Regions from separate parts of the Homo sapiens genome. Here all the other regions are linked to region 1. The links are contacts of gene promoters, found by promoter capture Hi-C in blood cells and fetal thymus (Javierre and others, 2016). All regions are on one chromosome and are shown on one strand. Each heading gives the region's core, a stretch centred on a gene start or on the middle of the fragment in contact. The rest is flanking DNA. Distances are from core to core; before and after follow the strand shown. Region 1 holds the start of MEX3C (mex-3 RNA binding family member C). Region 2 holds the start of DYM (dymeclin). Region 3 overlaps C18orf32 (chromosome 18 open reading frame 32). Region 4 overlaps LINC02837 (long intergenic non-protein coding RNA 2837). Region 5 holds the start of ACAA2 (acetyl-CoA acyltransferase 2).

Evidence for each region. Contacts are between HindIII fragments. The CHiCAGO score rates a contact against its expected background, and 5 or more counts as called.
Region 2: the fragment with the promoter of DYM here is called in contact with the fragment with the promoter of MEX3C in region 1 in 1 of 17 cell types (neutrophils); the score reaches 6.5 in neutrophils.
Region 3: a contact is called between a fragment that was not itself captured here and the fragment with the promoter of MEX3C in region 1, in 1 of 17 cell types (neutrophils). The highest score is 5.2, in neutrophils.
Region 4: a fragment that was not itself captured here is called in contact with the fragment with the promoter of MEX3C in region 1 in 1 of 17 cell types (neutrophils); the score reaches 6.7 in neutrophils.
Region 5: a contact is called between the fragment with the promoter of ACAA2 here and the fragment with the promoter of MEX3C in region 1, in 3 of 17 cell types (activated CD4 T cells, monocytes and non-activated CD4 T cells). The highest score is 7.1, in activated CD4 T cells.

The regions. Positions count from the first base shown.
Region 1 is chr18:51,196,298-51,198,975 of GRCh38, forward strand. It overlaps MEX3C (mex-3 RNA binding family member C), which reads right to left and starts at 1,384. Exons shown (of 2, transcript NM_016626.5): 1 at 270-1,384. The coding sequence starts at 1,023. RefSeq lists enhancers at 1-9, 1,808-1,897 and silencers at 348-397, 418-467, 728-807, 948-1,057, 1,078-1,607. The HindIII fragment of the contact is 5,421 bases long and covers 1-2,678 here.
Region 2 is chr18:49,459,284-49,461,961 of GRCh38, forward strand. DYM (dymeclin) reads right to left here and starts at 1,362. Exons shown (of 18, transcript NM_001353214.3): 1 at 1,115-1,362. RefSeq lists a silencer at 761-1,340. The HindIII fragment of the contact is 8,649 bases long and covers 1-2,678 here.
Region 3 is chr18:49,476,275-49,478,952 of GRCh38, forward strand. It overlaps C18orf32 (chromosome 18 open reading frame 32), which reads right to left. Exons shown (of 3, transcript NM_001035005.4): 3 at 969-2,678. Among named protein-coding and RNA genes, the nearest start is that of C18orf32, 9.6 kb to the right of the region's middle. The HindIII fragment of the contact is 2,342 bases long and covers 173-2,514 here.
Region 4 is chr18:49,500,810-49,503,487 of GRCh38, forward strand. All of the region lies in intron 2 of LINC02837 (long intergenic non-protein coding RNA 2837), which reads left to right. Among named protein-coding and RNA genes, the nearest start is that of LINC02837, 2.8 kb to the left of the region's middle. RefSeq lists an enhancer at 1-11. The HindIII fragment of the contact is 902 bases long and covers 891-1,792 here.
Region 5 is chr18:49,812,228-49,814,905 of GRCh38, forward strand. It overlaps ACAA2 (acetyl-CoA acyltransferase 2), which reads right to left and starts at 1,306. Exons shown (of 10, transcript NM_006111.3): 1 at 1,242-1,306. The coding sequence starts at 1,257. SNHG22 (small nucleolar RNA host gene 22) reads left to right here and starts at 1,796. Exons shown (of 4, transcript NR_117096.1): 1 at 1,796-1,835. It also overlaps SCARNA17. RefSeq lists silencers at 1,099-1,218, 1,112-1,406, 1,649-1,818. The HindIII fragment of the contact is 2,119 bases long and covers 558-2,676 here.

The DNA.
Region 1 (2,678 bases), core at 134-2,633:
CGAATACAGCCCAAGTAACGTGAACACCACCGGACTGGGTCGCCCGAGAAACTTCACACTTTTTACCAGGCAAGACGGGCGGAAAAGCGTGGGTTTTCGCAAGGTGACCCATCTTCACATCTGGTCGACCCTCGGCTCCTCCCAGACCCCTTCGCGGTGGACTTGGGGGCCTCGCCGGGTTCGCCTTTTCCGTCCCACGCTCCTTTCTCTCGTCTCCCCACCCACGCCCGGGGCCATGCCCAGCTGGACCTCCCCACCCCTGCACTCACCCTGGCGGCCGACGATCTCGGCGACGTGCTCGGAGCTGGGCACCGGGACGCACTCGGTGGTGTTGACGCTCTTTCTCCGGAGCAGGGCCGCCTGCTCCCCGTTCAGGGCGGCCGCCGCCGCCCCACAACCGCCGGGGCCGTAGGCGTGGGACAGCATCGCCGCCATCATGCCCTGGGCATCGTCCCCTCCGTACAGCACCCCCGCCGCCGCCGCCGCGGCCGCCGCCTCCCGGGCATCGAACCTGGCGGCTGGCAGCAGCACAGACCCCAGGGACCCGCCCGGGATCTGCTGGGTCTGAGAGGCGGTGGCCGCGGGCGGCGACAGCAGCAGCAGCGACGACCGGTCCTCCTCCTCTGCTTCCTCCAGCTCCTCCTCCTCCAGCAGGTCTCCGTCCAGCTCCGCTTCCTCCCCCTCCTCCTCGTCCTCTTCCAGCTCCAGCTCGGCCGCCTCCGGGGCCCCGGGCCGGCCGGGCGGAGCCCGCTCCTCTGGAGACAGCTCCGCCGCCCGCCGGGCCTGGCCCTGCGCCGCCGCTGCCGGGGCCCGAAGCGCCGGGGCGCCGGGCTCCGCCGGGCTGGGGTCGTCGAGGCCTAGCGCGGCCAAGCGCTCCCTCAGCAGGAGCCCGTCCCCCTCGAGCTCCGGGCCGCCCGAGGGCGGCGGCAGAGGCGGCGGTGGCGGCGGCGGCGGCGGGGGCGGCTGCGGCAGGGGGGCCGGGGCCGCCGCCAGGGCCAGGGCCGCGGAGCTGCCGCTGGGCATCGCGGCGGCGCGCTGTCAATGGCGGCGGCGGCGGCCGGGTCAGGCGCGGCAGGCGGCGAGCCCCATGGCGGACAGGGCCAGGGCCCTGCTCAGCTCGCAAACACCTTTCCTCTGGGGAGGCGGCGGGGCTGGGGACCCGGGCCGAGGAGCGCCAGGGCCGCCCGGAGACCGGAGAGGGCGGGGTGGAGGGGCAGGGGAAGGAGGCAGAGGTAGGTAACTAGGTGGGTGGGTGGGGACGGCGGCGGGGCGGGCTGGTGGAGGTGGCAGCGGCTCCCCTCTCAGTGTTTCTTTTGTTTCATGGCCTTAACCAGCCCCCGGCGCGCGCGGCGGCGGCGGCTACGCCCCACGCCGCTCTCCGAATGAAGCCGGCGCGCTCTGATTGGGTGCTTTTAATCTCTGGGAGCCCGCCTTCTCCTCCCGCAGCCTTCCAACTCCTTTCCCCAGCCCCACCCCCCACCCTCCTTCGGGCCCCGCCCCTCCCCTCCCCAGAGCTCTCTGATTGGGTGACCGGGACCAGCCAGTTCCCGAAGCCTACTCCTTCCGTCCTCTCCCCGCCCACCTCCCTCTCATTCCTCCCGGCACGCGCGGAGAGGGACTGTGATTGTTCACTTTACACGTCACTCTTTGTGACGTCCCCGGCGGGGGCGGGAAAAAGGAGGCGGACGAAGGCGCTGCAGCAGAGGCTGAAACTAAGGGCCAAGCGGGGTTTTGGCGCAGGCGCGTGCGGTCGAAGCGCACACCTGGATTTGTTTCCCCCCAACCCTTCATCCCTGTAGCCCATGTGGCTGAGTTCTTTTAGGGAAGGCACTGTGTGAGCGGCCTGGAGCAGAGCTGCAGGCATAGGTTCGAGAGCATTGTTTCCTTGGGTTGAGGAAGAGATCGCCCCCTTCAGAGGAAGGGCCTTAAGAAGAGTCACGGAAGGAGGGGCCACGCAGTATCCTCCTATCCCCTCGCGGGGGCGGTTTCCTGAGCCGCGTGGCTCCCGGGCCTTCCCTCTCGGACTCGGGAATGCTCCTCCCACGCCCCGCTGGCCCGGCTTCTCTGCCGGCAGGATGGTTACATCAGCAGCCTGGAGGTGCTGAAGTTTAGCTCTTCGGGGTTTTTTGTTTTTTTTTTTTAAACGGAGTCCAGCTCTGTCGCCCAGGCTGGAGTGCAGTGGTGCGATCTTGGCTCACTGCAACCTCCGCCTCCCGGGCTCAAGAGCTTCCCCTTGCAGTGGCTCACGCCTGTAATGCCAGCACTTTGAGAGGCTCAGGCGGGCGGATCACGAGGTCAGGTCAGGAGTTCGAGACCAGCCTGATCAACATGGTGAAACCCCGTCTCTACTAAAAATACAGAAATTAGCCGGGCATGGTGGCGCACGCCTGTAATCCCAACTACTCGGGAGGCGGAGGCAGGAGAATCGCTTGAACCCGGGAGGTGGAGGTTGCAGTGAGCCAAGATCATGCCACTGCACTCCAGCCTGGGCGACAGAGCGAAACTGCGTCTCAAAAAAAAAAAAAAAAAAAAAAGAGTTTCTCCTGTCTCAGCCTCCCGAGTAGCTGGGATTACAGGCACGTGCCACCACGCCCAGCTAACTTTTGTATTTTTAGTAGAGACGGGGTTTCACCATGTTGGCCAGGCTGGTCTCGAACTCCTGACCTCAAGTGATACGC
Region 2 (2,678 bases), core at 112-2,611, 1.7 Mb before region 1:
TTCATTTACAGAATGGGAATATTCATACTTGTCCGGTCTATCTCCAAGTTGCTGAGAGGATTATCTAAAATAAAACTTCAAAGCAGGATAATCACTCCAGAAATCCATATATTCATAAATTTCATCCTCTGCAACAACCATTCACCCATTCCTATAGATTCTCTTCCCTTCCACCTCGTTCTTCTCTTGAGCCCTCAACTCATCAGCCTAAGCACCTGAGTTCCTCTGGTGGACGCTACATTCCTCTCCACGGCCTCCACCCTCCAGGTTTTCATCCTTCAGCACATCACCCTTGCTCTACACACCCCTCTCTCCAACTTCCCCTCTCCTCTTTCAAGGAACTCACTCCATCTGTGCCCCCTAATCAGTCTATCCTGGGTACCCGCTTTGCTGGCCGATTACAATCATCCCATCACTTCTCTACCCCTGTTCAGTAGAGAACAGCTTTATCCAATCAGCTTTACCACACCAATACCCTCAAACCCCACTACTGCCCCCAGTTCACAAACACCCACCCTTTCACTTTTCAGTCAAAACACAATTGCTCAGGCAAATCCACGGCGACTGAAAGTAGATCAATAGTGTAGGGGAGAGAAGGAGGAGTGACTGCTAATGGGTACGAGCTTCTTTGGGGCGGGGGGGGCGGTGATTAAAAATGCTCTGGAGTTAAGGGTGGTGATGGCTGCTCAACCCTGTGAATATACTAAAAACCACTGAGTTGTACTTTTAAAGGGTTAATTTTCTGATATGTTAGTTATACCTCGATAAACTATGAATGTAAAAAGAAGAAAGAAAAACCCAACAGCTATTGCTCACCCTGCCCATCACACGCCCATTTGTCAGACCAACACCGCCCCATCTCCGGAAGCACCGACTTGGCCTTCGGTATCCCCCAACTCCCAACAGCGGACTCGGACAGAGGTCCGTCCGCTGTCAGCACAGCCCCTCCGGGTGGCCCAGGCGCCCGCGGGCAGGGAAGGGAGGGTCCCTTCGCCGCCGCCCCGGGGCGCTGGCCGGGTTGCGGAGGGTGGCCCCTGACCCCCTCTGACAGGAGGCCGGGGACAGCCAGGCTTTCGGGCCCGGCCGCGCTGAGGGGGGCGGCGCTACAGCCCACCTGTCTCAGCCGGCTGGGGGATCTGCTCCAGCTCCACGGACCCGCGGACGGATGGGAGGGTGGCAGAGGGGTCAGGAGAAGTCGCTGTCGCCGCCGCAGCCCAGGTGGCGCACACCGGCTCAGGCCTCCATGTTTCCACGTCTCAGCGGGTACAGATCCGGCTCCGGTCCGGCCTGCAGCTCGGCCCCGGCTCGGCTCCAGCCCGGGCCGCGTCGGTGCGGAGGCCAGGAGGCGGCGAGAGAAGAGGGAAGCGACCGAGAACGCGGCTAGGGACCAGACCCCCAGGCGCGCGCGCCAGCCAGGTGGTCACGTGGCACGCGGCGCGCGCGGGCTTCTGGAAACTGTAGTCCTTTGGGTGTTATTCGTGCCTCCGCCCTCCTAGTACCTCCTGGGCTACCGCAAAGCCACGTGGCGAAATCGAGAAGCGCAAAAACAGCCGTGCGCGGTGGCTCACGCCTGTAATCCCAGCACTTTAGGAGGCCGAGGTGGACGGATCACGAGGTCAGGAGATCGAGACCATCCTGGCCAGCATGGTGAAACCCCGTCTCCACTAAAAATACAAAAAGTAGCTGTTTGAGACAGGATAATCGTTTGAACCCGAGAGGCGGAGATTGCAGTGAGTCAAAAAGTAGCTGTCTGAGGCAGGAGAATCGTTTGAACCCGAGAGGCGGAGATTGCAGTGAGTCGAGATCGGGCCACTGCACTCCAGCCTTGCGACAGAGCTCGACTCTTCTCAAAAAAAAAAAAAGAGAGAGAGAGAGAAGCGCAAAAACCTCACCTGCCGGGTGCTAGAGTCAACCTCACCTGCCAGGTGCTAGAGTCCTCGCTCATGCTACACCGCTCGTTCTGGCGGCTTAACCTTATTAAGGCCTCTGTTAATTGCAGCTGAATAACCATCCCAAAGTCAAGCAATATTGTGTGGGATTCTGGAGAATTGAGAAATAGCAAAATAATTTTTGATGGAGGCAGCTGGCAGGGCTAGCCCTGCCTGCAAAGTTGTCGGAAAGGACAGGTCCCACGGGAAAGAGTAGCAATATGAGATAGTGCCAAAACTATGGAATTTGAAGTCAAATGAGCTGAGGTTTCCACACTGACGTCTTTGAGCAATTACTTCACCTCTCTCAGCCAGTTTCCTCACCTAAAATATATGCATGATGATGATTCTGCCATTACAGGAAATGTTGACATGACTGTAGTAATAACAATTCACATTATGGATTATTTTCTATTTGCCATGCACTATTATTTCGCAAAATGACCCTATGGAACAGATAGCACCGTTATTCCCATTATATAGTCAATATGTGCCAGTGTACTCTGTAAAGTACTATACAAATATTAGGTATTCTTTTCTAGCATAGACTGCCAGTAAATTCACTGAGCTTGCAGAATTATGACAGGAAAACATATTAAAACCCAAAGTAGACTGGGCCCTGTGGCTTATGCCTGTAATCCCAATACTTTGGGAGGCTAAGGTGGGAGGATCACTTGAGCCCAGGAGTTCGGAAGGACCAGCCTGAGCAACATAGCGATACACTGTCTCAACAAAAAATACAAAAATTAG
Region 3 (2,678 bases), core at 94-2,593, 1.7 Mb before region 1:
ACCACACCTGGCTGATTTTTTTTTTGTATTTTAGTAGAGACGGGGTTTCACCGTGTTGCCCAGGCTGGTCTTGAACTCCTGAGCTCAGACAATCCGCCTGCCTCGGCCTCCCAAAGTGCTGAGATTACAGGCGTGAGCCACCGTGCCCGGCGCCTTTTCCTCTTCTTATAAAAGCTTCCAGTTCTACTCCTATGATAACCCGTTAAATCTATTAACCCACTAATCCATTAATCCATGAGTGAATGAATCTATTCATGAGGGCAGGGCCCTCATGACCCAATTACCTTTTAAAGGCCCTACCTCTCACTACTGCCACATTGGGGATTAAATTTCAACATGAGTTTTGGAGCGGACATTCAAACCAAAGAACCCATAGTCTTTGCTTCTTTATTAAGGAGCTGTCGCCATGTCAATAAATTTAGCTTTGAGGTTAGAACAAGCAAGTAGCTCCCTGTGGAGGAAACCATAAGAAAACTTCCATTTCCTCTTTGATTACGACTGAACTAGACTTAAGATCAGTCTCTGCGCCAGGCGCAGTGGTTCATGCCTGTAGTCCCAGCTACTCGGGAGGCTGAGACAAGAAGATCACTTCAGCCCAGGAGTTTGAGCCTGCAGTGAGCTATGATTGCGCCACTGCACTCCAGCCTGGGCAACAGAGTGAGACTCTGTCTCTAAAAAATAATAACAAATGAAAAGATCAGCGGTTGGAGTTTCTTTTTAATCCAGGCATTCTGTCAACATGCCAGTTCTGAATGGTCACTTTAAGGAAGTGCTGAGTCACCTATGTTTCCTAAGAAGGCAGCCTAGTAATGGAAAAAAAAAAAAAAAAGTGATGAAACCCAAGTTTTAGCCTCAAGTAATTACCTGAGAAAATGAGTCTAACTCATAAAATGAGACGGGAAATGCAGTTAAAATTCATAAAGCAAAAATAAGTTGTTGAAAAGTAGGTAAATTAAAAACTCAAGATACAAGGTTAGCAAAATTAACTTTATTATTATTTATTTGAAACGGGGTATTGCTCTGTTGTCCTGGCTGGAGTACAGTGGTGTGATCTTGGCTCACTGCAACTTCCGCCTCCTGGACTTAAGCGATCCTCTCACCTCAGCCTCCAGAAACTTTAAAACAAGTTCACACATACTGATTAATCTAAACTCACCCTCTCCATTTCTGCCTAATTATTCCCAATAAGGTATTACTAACAATTAAGATATTAGTAGCTGTGGCAGCCGGGCCCAGTGCTTATGCCTGTGATCCCAGCACTTTGGGAGGCCAAGGCAGGCAGATCACTGGAGGTTGGGAGTTTGAGACCAGCCTGACCAACGTGGTGAAACCCCGTCTCTACTAAAGTACAAAATTAGCCGGGTGTGGTAGCACGCACCTGTAATCCCAGCTACTTGGGAGGCTGAGGCAGAATCGCTTGAACCTGGGAGGAGGAGGTTGTGGTGAGCAGAGATTGCACCATTGCACTGCAGCCTGGGCAACAAGAGCGAAACTCCATCTTCCAAAAACAAACAAACAAACAAAAATATATATATATACACACACTATATATATATACACATATATATATATACACACACTATATATATACACACTATATATATACACTATATATATATACACTATATGTATATACACTATATATATATACACACTATATATATATATACACTATATATATATGTAGCTGTGATGGCTCCTTAGCATGAAAGTATGACCTTGAAATCTTAGACTTGTCATTTACATATTTAAACTCCATTATTCTTTTTTTCTTTTTTTAAGACAGGGTCTTGCTCTGTTGTCCAAGCTAGAGTGCAGTGGCTTGATCACAGCTCACTGTAGCCTTTAACCTCCTGGGTTCAAGCAATCCTCCCACCTCAGCCTCCAGAGTAGCTGGGACCACAGGTGCACATCACCATATGCCTAGCTAAATTTTTTAATTTTTGGTGGAGGCGAGGTCTCCCTATGTTGCCCAGGCTGGGATCCTGTTTTTCTTTTTCTTTTCTTTTGAGACAGTCTTGCTCTGTCACCTAGGCTGGAGTGCAGTGGTACAATTTCAGCTCACTGCAACCTCTGCCTCCTGGTTTCAAACGATTCTCATGCCTCAGCCTCTGGAGTAGCTGGGATTACAGGTGTGTACCACTATGCCCGACTAATTTTTGTATTTTTAGTAGAGACAGGGTTTCACCATGTTGGCCAGGCTGGTCTTGAACTCCCGGCCTCAAGTGATCCTCCCACCTCGGCCTCCCAAAGTGCTGGGATTATAGGCTTGAGTCACCGCCTCCGGTGGATCCTGTTTTCTTGACTGTATTTCAGGTTTATGCAGACCAGGTAGGTTTGTGTGTGTGAAACACCCATGAACAGTGCAGGTACAATGTGTTTAACAAAGGGTAGCTCTTACTAAAAAGGCAGCCCTGACCTTTACACAGACAGATGTTGATATTTTAGGGCAAAGAAACATTTGTGTGGTATCAAACAGTGGCTACCAACTCCAGCCCATGGATAACTGATAAAAGCTTTTAACAATTAGCCTCCAAAATAAGAAAAATATGAACAAAATAGTGAATTTTTCATAAAATTAACACTTTTCATACGCTTATTCAAACTGATGGCTATTTTTGTCCACTATTCCCATGTTCTTTTTCACTCTTCTGGTGTCAAACTGTCTTTTACGAAAT
Region 4 (2,678 bases), core at 92-2,591, 1.7 Mb before region 1:
TCAGGCGGCTGGAGTCCTTTAATTCACCTCTCCGGACCTTGGGCTGCTGGCTGCTCCTCTCTGCCGCCTGGCTGTCTCTCCCTTACCTCCCAGAGTTAGGGTAATAGCTGACATTTTTCTTCACTAGGCTTTCCTAAGGGATTTCATTCCATTTGTGAGACACTTTAATTCCTGAAGCTGCAAAGTTTGCTTTTTATTACTATAGCTCTACTTATTCTGCATAATTTTATTTATTATTTGTTTATGTATTTATTTTTTGAGACAGAGTCTCGCTGTGTTGCCCAGGCTGGAGTGCAGTGGCGCCATCTCAGCTCACTGCAACCTCTGCCTCCTGGGTTCAAGCAATTCTCCTTCCTCAGTCTCCTGAGCAGCTGGGACTACAGGCACGTGCTACCACGCCCAGCTAAGTTTTGTATTTTTAGTAGAGACGAGGTTTCATCATATTGGCCAGGCTGGTCTCGAACTCCTGACCTTGTGATCCACCTGCCTCAGCCTCCCAAAGTGCTGGGATTACAGGCGTGAGCCACCACGCCTGGCTTATTCTGCATAATTTTTAAGAGTTGTGAATTGTTTTAAGATCAAATTTAAAAGTACATTTTCTTTCTTATCTTGTCATTAACTGATGTTGGGTATGTGTGTGTGCTTGTGATTTCCCTGGCTGGACCAGTGTATAACTTCAAAGAGGGCTGGTGCCTTGCCTTTAGTCTGCTGGATAGCACTCCTCCAGACCCTCCCTTTGCTGAGCAGCTCCGTGGACCTGTGCAAATCTCTACCCAGCTTTGTTGGACAACAAAATACCCTGGAGAATATCAAGCCCTTTAACATACCCAGTTTGTGCTCCCAGACGTAAGATCTCTTTGGCCATGTATGTGGGATTCCCATGAAGGAGAAGCTTCATTTCCAGCAAGAATCTGGCTTCCACCTAGACTTGGGAAACAGATACTGAAAAGCATATTGCTGATCAACTAGACAACCTACTTCCACTCTTGATTGCCCCTGTAATCCATCTAGAACAGCCAGAGCAATTTATTTATTAAAAAATTTAAAATTGGCCAGGTGCGGTGGCTCACGCTTGTATCCCCAGCACTTTGGGAGGCCGGGGTGGCAGATCACTTGAGGCCAGGAGTTAAGATCAGCCCGGCCAACATGGTGAAACCCTGTCTTTACTAAAAATAGAAAAAGTTGCCAGGCAAGATGCCTTACGCCTGTAATCCCAGCACTTTGGGAGGCCAAGGCAGGTGGATCACGAGGTCAGGAGATGGAGATTATCTTGGCTAACACGGTGAAACCCCATCTCTCTCTACTAAAAATACAAAAAATTAGCCGGGCATGGTGGCACACGCCTGTAGTCCCAGCTACTTGGGAGGCTGAGGCAGGAGCATGGCTTGAACCTGGGAGGCGGAGGTTGCAGTGAGCCGAGATCGCACCACTGCACTCCAGTCTGGGTGACAGAGCGAGTCTCTGTCTCAAAAAAAAAAAAGAAAAAGAAAAAAGAAAAGAAAAGAAAAAATTAGCCGGGCATGGTGGTGCGTGCCTGTAATCCCAGGTACTCGGGAGGCTGAGGCAGGAGAATCTCTTGAACCCGGGAGGCAGATGTTGCAGTGAGCCAAGATCGCACCATTGCACTCCAGCCTGGGTGACAGAGTGACTCCATCTCAATAAATAAATAAATAATAAGTAAAATTTTAAAATTATTCAAAAATTTAAGATTATTTATATGTGTTTTATAGAAAGTCAGATATAGCAGGTAAGCAGATTAAGAAAATAAAATCCTTATATTTCCAAAAGATTAAGCTTTAATATATCCTTCTAGTATAGTGTGAGATATATACTTCATGTGTGTATGTATATACATATATACTTACCAGGTGAAATTATACTGTACATGCTATTTCATAATCAGATTTTTTTCCAGTTAATCTCAATTTTACCATGTTGATACATTTTCATCTCTTCTAATACCTAACCTCAATTTCAGTTATCCCAGTTGTTCCCCAAATGTCCTTTCCAGTTGGTTTGTTCAAAGCAAGACCCGCCAGGCACACTGACTCACACCTGTAATCCCAGCACTTTGGGAAGCTGAGGCAGGCAGATCACTTGAGGCCAGGAGTTCGAAACCAGCTTGGCCAACATGGTGAATCCCTGTCTCTACTAAAAATAGAAAAAATTAGCAGGGTGTGGTGGCACACACCTGTAGTCCCAGCTACTCTGGAGGCTGAGGCATGTGAATTGCTTGAAGCTGGGAGACAGAGGTTGCAGTGAGTTGAGATCATGTCACTACACTCCAGCCTGGGTGACAGAGCAAGGCTCTGTCTCAAACAAACAAACAAACAAACAAACCAACCAACCAAAGCAGCCACACACACACAAAAAAACCAGAAACAAAGCAAGACCCAATCTAGGTCCCACATGACATCTGGTTGTTGTTTCTTTTTATTTTATTTTTGAGACAGAGGCTTGCTGTCACCCAAGCTAGAGTGTATTGGCGCGATCTCGGCTCACTGCAACCTCTGCCTCCGGGGTTCAAGTGATTCTCCTGCCTCAGCCTCCTGAGTAGCTGGGATTACAGTCGCCCACCATCACGCCTGGCTAATTTTTGTATTTTTAGTACAGACTGGGTTTCACTATGTTGGCCAGGTTGGTCTTGAACTCCTGACCTCAGGTGATCTGCCCGTCTC
Region 5 (2,678 bases), core at 56-2,555, 1.4 Mb before region 1:
CCACTTTGGTTCTTCTCACTTTCAGATCCCCCTAACCAATGCTTAGCTGGCATCTCCACTTGGCTGCTTCACAGGCACCAAAAAGTTTTCTGCCTAAAACTGAATTCTCAATCCTTCTTTCCACATCTATTCCTTTCCCAATTTTCCTCACTCTGTAAAGTGGCATCATCATGAACACGGTTCATCAAACCAGACACTTTTCATCATTCTCGACATTTCCTTCTTATATTTACTCCACCACATCCAATCCACTTTCTATCAAATCCACCTCCAAATCTATCTCAACTCATCCCTCCCCTTTTCTCCCCAATTACACTGCCCCACACGAGTCAAAGCCATCATTTGCTGCTCCCTGGACCTCTACAATAGATCCTTAAATGGTCTCTTCGCCATTACACAGACCGCCCCAAATTCGGACAGAGTGGAAATCAGATCCTGTCATTACCCCGCTTTAAATCCCTGTATTGCCTTCCACTGAATTTGGAACAAAACCCCACCTTCTTACAGAGCCCACAGGGCCCTGGAGCACCAAAATGCTTGGTTCTTAGATCCTGCCAAGCTTTTTCCTGTCTCAGGGCCTCGATATGTATTCCACCTCAATGTTCTTCGACTCGTACATCCTTAAAGTAAGATTCCATTGACTGTGCCCACTTGTTTTGAAAAGGGAGTTTATTACACAGTTGTTTTAAACAAGTTCATAACCCTAGAACTTAGGTATAGAGTGACCGCTCTAATCTAAAGCAACAGAAGGGAAATGGGAGCAGGGCAGGTCTTCCAGCAGAACACCAGCTACCATTTCTGCAGGCCTCTCCATCGATTCACCCGGGGAGCCCTGACCACCGAGGCCGAGCGGCGGGCTCCTGTGCGCAGCTGCCCCGCAGCAGGCGCCCGCGGCCTATGGCGCCGCCCCATTTTTTCTAATACTTGGACTCGAACTAGTGGGGTCACTGTTAGGCGAAGAAAGGAATGACCTCCAAGGTCACATGCAAGCAAACTTTGGTCTCAACTAAACAGGAAATTGCACCGAAATCGCTGTCGCTAGCGCCTTACAAGTAAGGGTTTTCTCCTTAACCCAAACAAGCCTTTCGGGCTGGGTTTTTATCACGTCCGCTCCAAAACCGAGGAGGTTGAGTGAACTTCACCCCACGACCCCGACTCTCCGCGGCGGCCGGAAGCGGAGGCCTGGCCTGGGGAGGGCAGGACCCCGAGGGGCGAGGAGAGGAGGAGGGGGCTGCGCTCACCTCGGAGCAGAGCCATGGCGGCTGCTGGGTCGTCGGCGGCGCGGGTCTGTGGTGTGGGGGACGCTGAGCGGCCGCTCGCAATCACCCAGATTTCAAGAGCGTGGGTGGCGCCCCGAGAGCCACGCCCCTGCCCTTTCACCTACTTCCTGGGGCTCCTTGGCGGGGTCCCAGCGTAAGATGGTCCTACCCCACGCGTAGCGCTGCCCGCCTCACCCCAGCCCGAGGGAGCCCAGGGGACGGGGCTCGGATAGACCACAACGCGCCTTGAGAGCGGACTCTTTCCTCACATCCTCATTTTTAGATTTTCTCCGTTTCCAAACCGAGAGAATTTGGTTTGACACCTCTCACCCATCATATCCTAGCCCCGACAGGCGATGACTCTTCCCCTTTGTCTCCGCCAACACCCTAAACACTGGGCAGGAGCCAAGGGCTGAGGAACTTGGCGCGCGGGCGGCCGCGGCCGCCAGCTGGGGGCGGGACCGAACGTCCTGTGGGCGGGGCGCGGCGGCGGCGGCGGGATTGGCTGGGGCGGGCGGGTGCGCAGTCCGCTGGGCAGAGGCTTGGGCCGCCGAGCTGGACCCGGACCGGTTTTGGGTACTGTACTGGGGGCAGGGCAGAGAGGTGGGCGGCAGTTGGGGTGCGGTGATTGTAGTAGGCTAGGGCGCTTTCGGGTCCCCATTGCAGCCCCCGGATGAGCCCGCAGTATTTTCCTTATATGATCAGGTCCCATTGCGGGCGGCGCCGCTTGCCCGGAGCCTGAGAGGATTATGAAAACGTGGCGAGCGAAATGGGGCCAGGGGACCTGGAGCAGGGGCGTGAGGAGAGTAGGCAGCGGGTGAGGCTGGACGGGAGGGAGGTCTAGGGAGGCCTCTGCCGCGGGCACTGTGAGTCCTGGCCGATGATGACGAGACCACTGCGCAATCTGAGTTCTGGGAACCAGGTGATGGAGTATGTTCTGAGAACAGACTGAGGCCGGGCAAGCAGGAGGCGGCCGCGGCAGGGGAGAGGCGGAGAGCCCCTCGATACCAGGGCTCGGAGGGCCGGGCTGCCTAGCGAGGGCTTCTTTTGAGTGCGTAGGGGTGGTGGGTGGCATGGACGGTTTCTCTGAGTCGTCAGCGAATGCCCCCCCTAGAATCCTGCTTTTCAAACACTTTGGTGACACTCTTGCAATGTTGGGGTGTTTTTAAATCCAAATTTGTATTATGAAAACTTACAAACTTACAGAAAAGTGGGAAGACTTGTACAGTGGACACATATCGACCCAATTGTTAACATTTTGCTATATTGCTATCCACCTGTTCTTCCATCAAACCATCTTATCTTTTTAATGCAGACCTTAGTACTCTACACCCATGAACACATCAGCACACATTATTCATTTACAGTTCTTTTTAAGGCAAAATATCCACGCAATCAAATGTACAAATCTTAGACAAG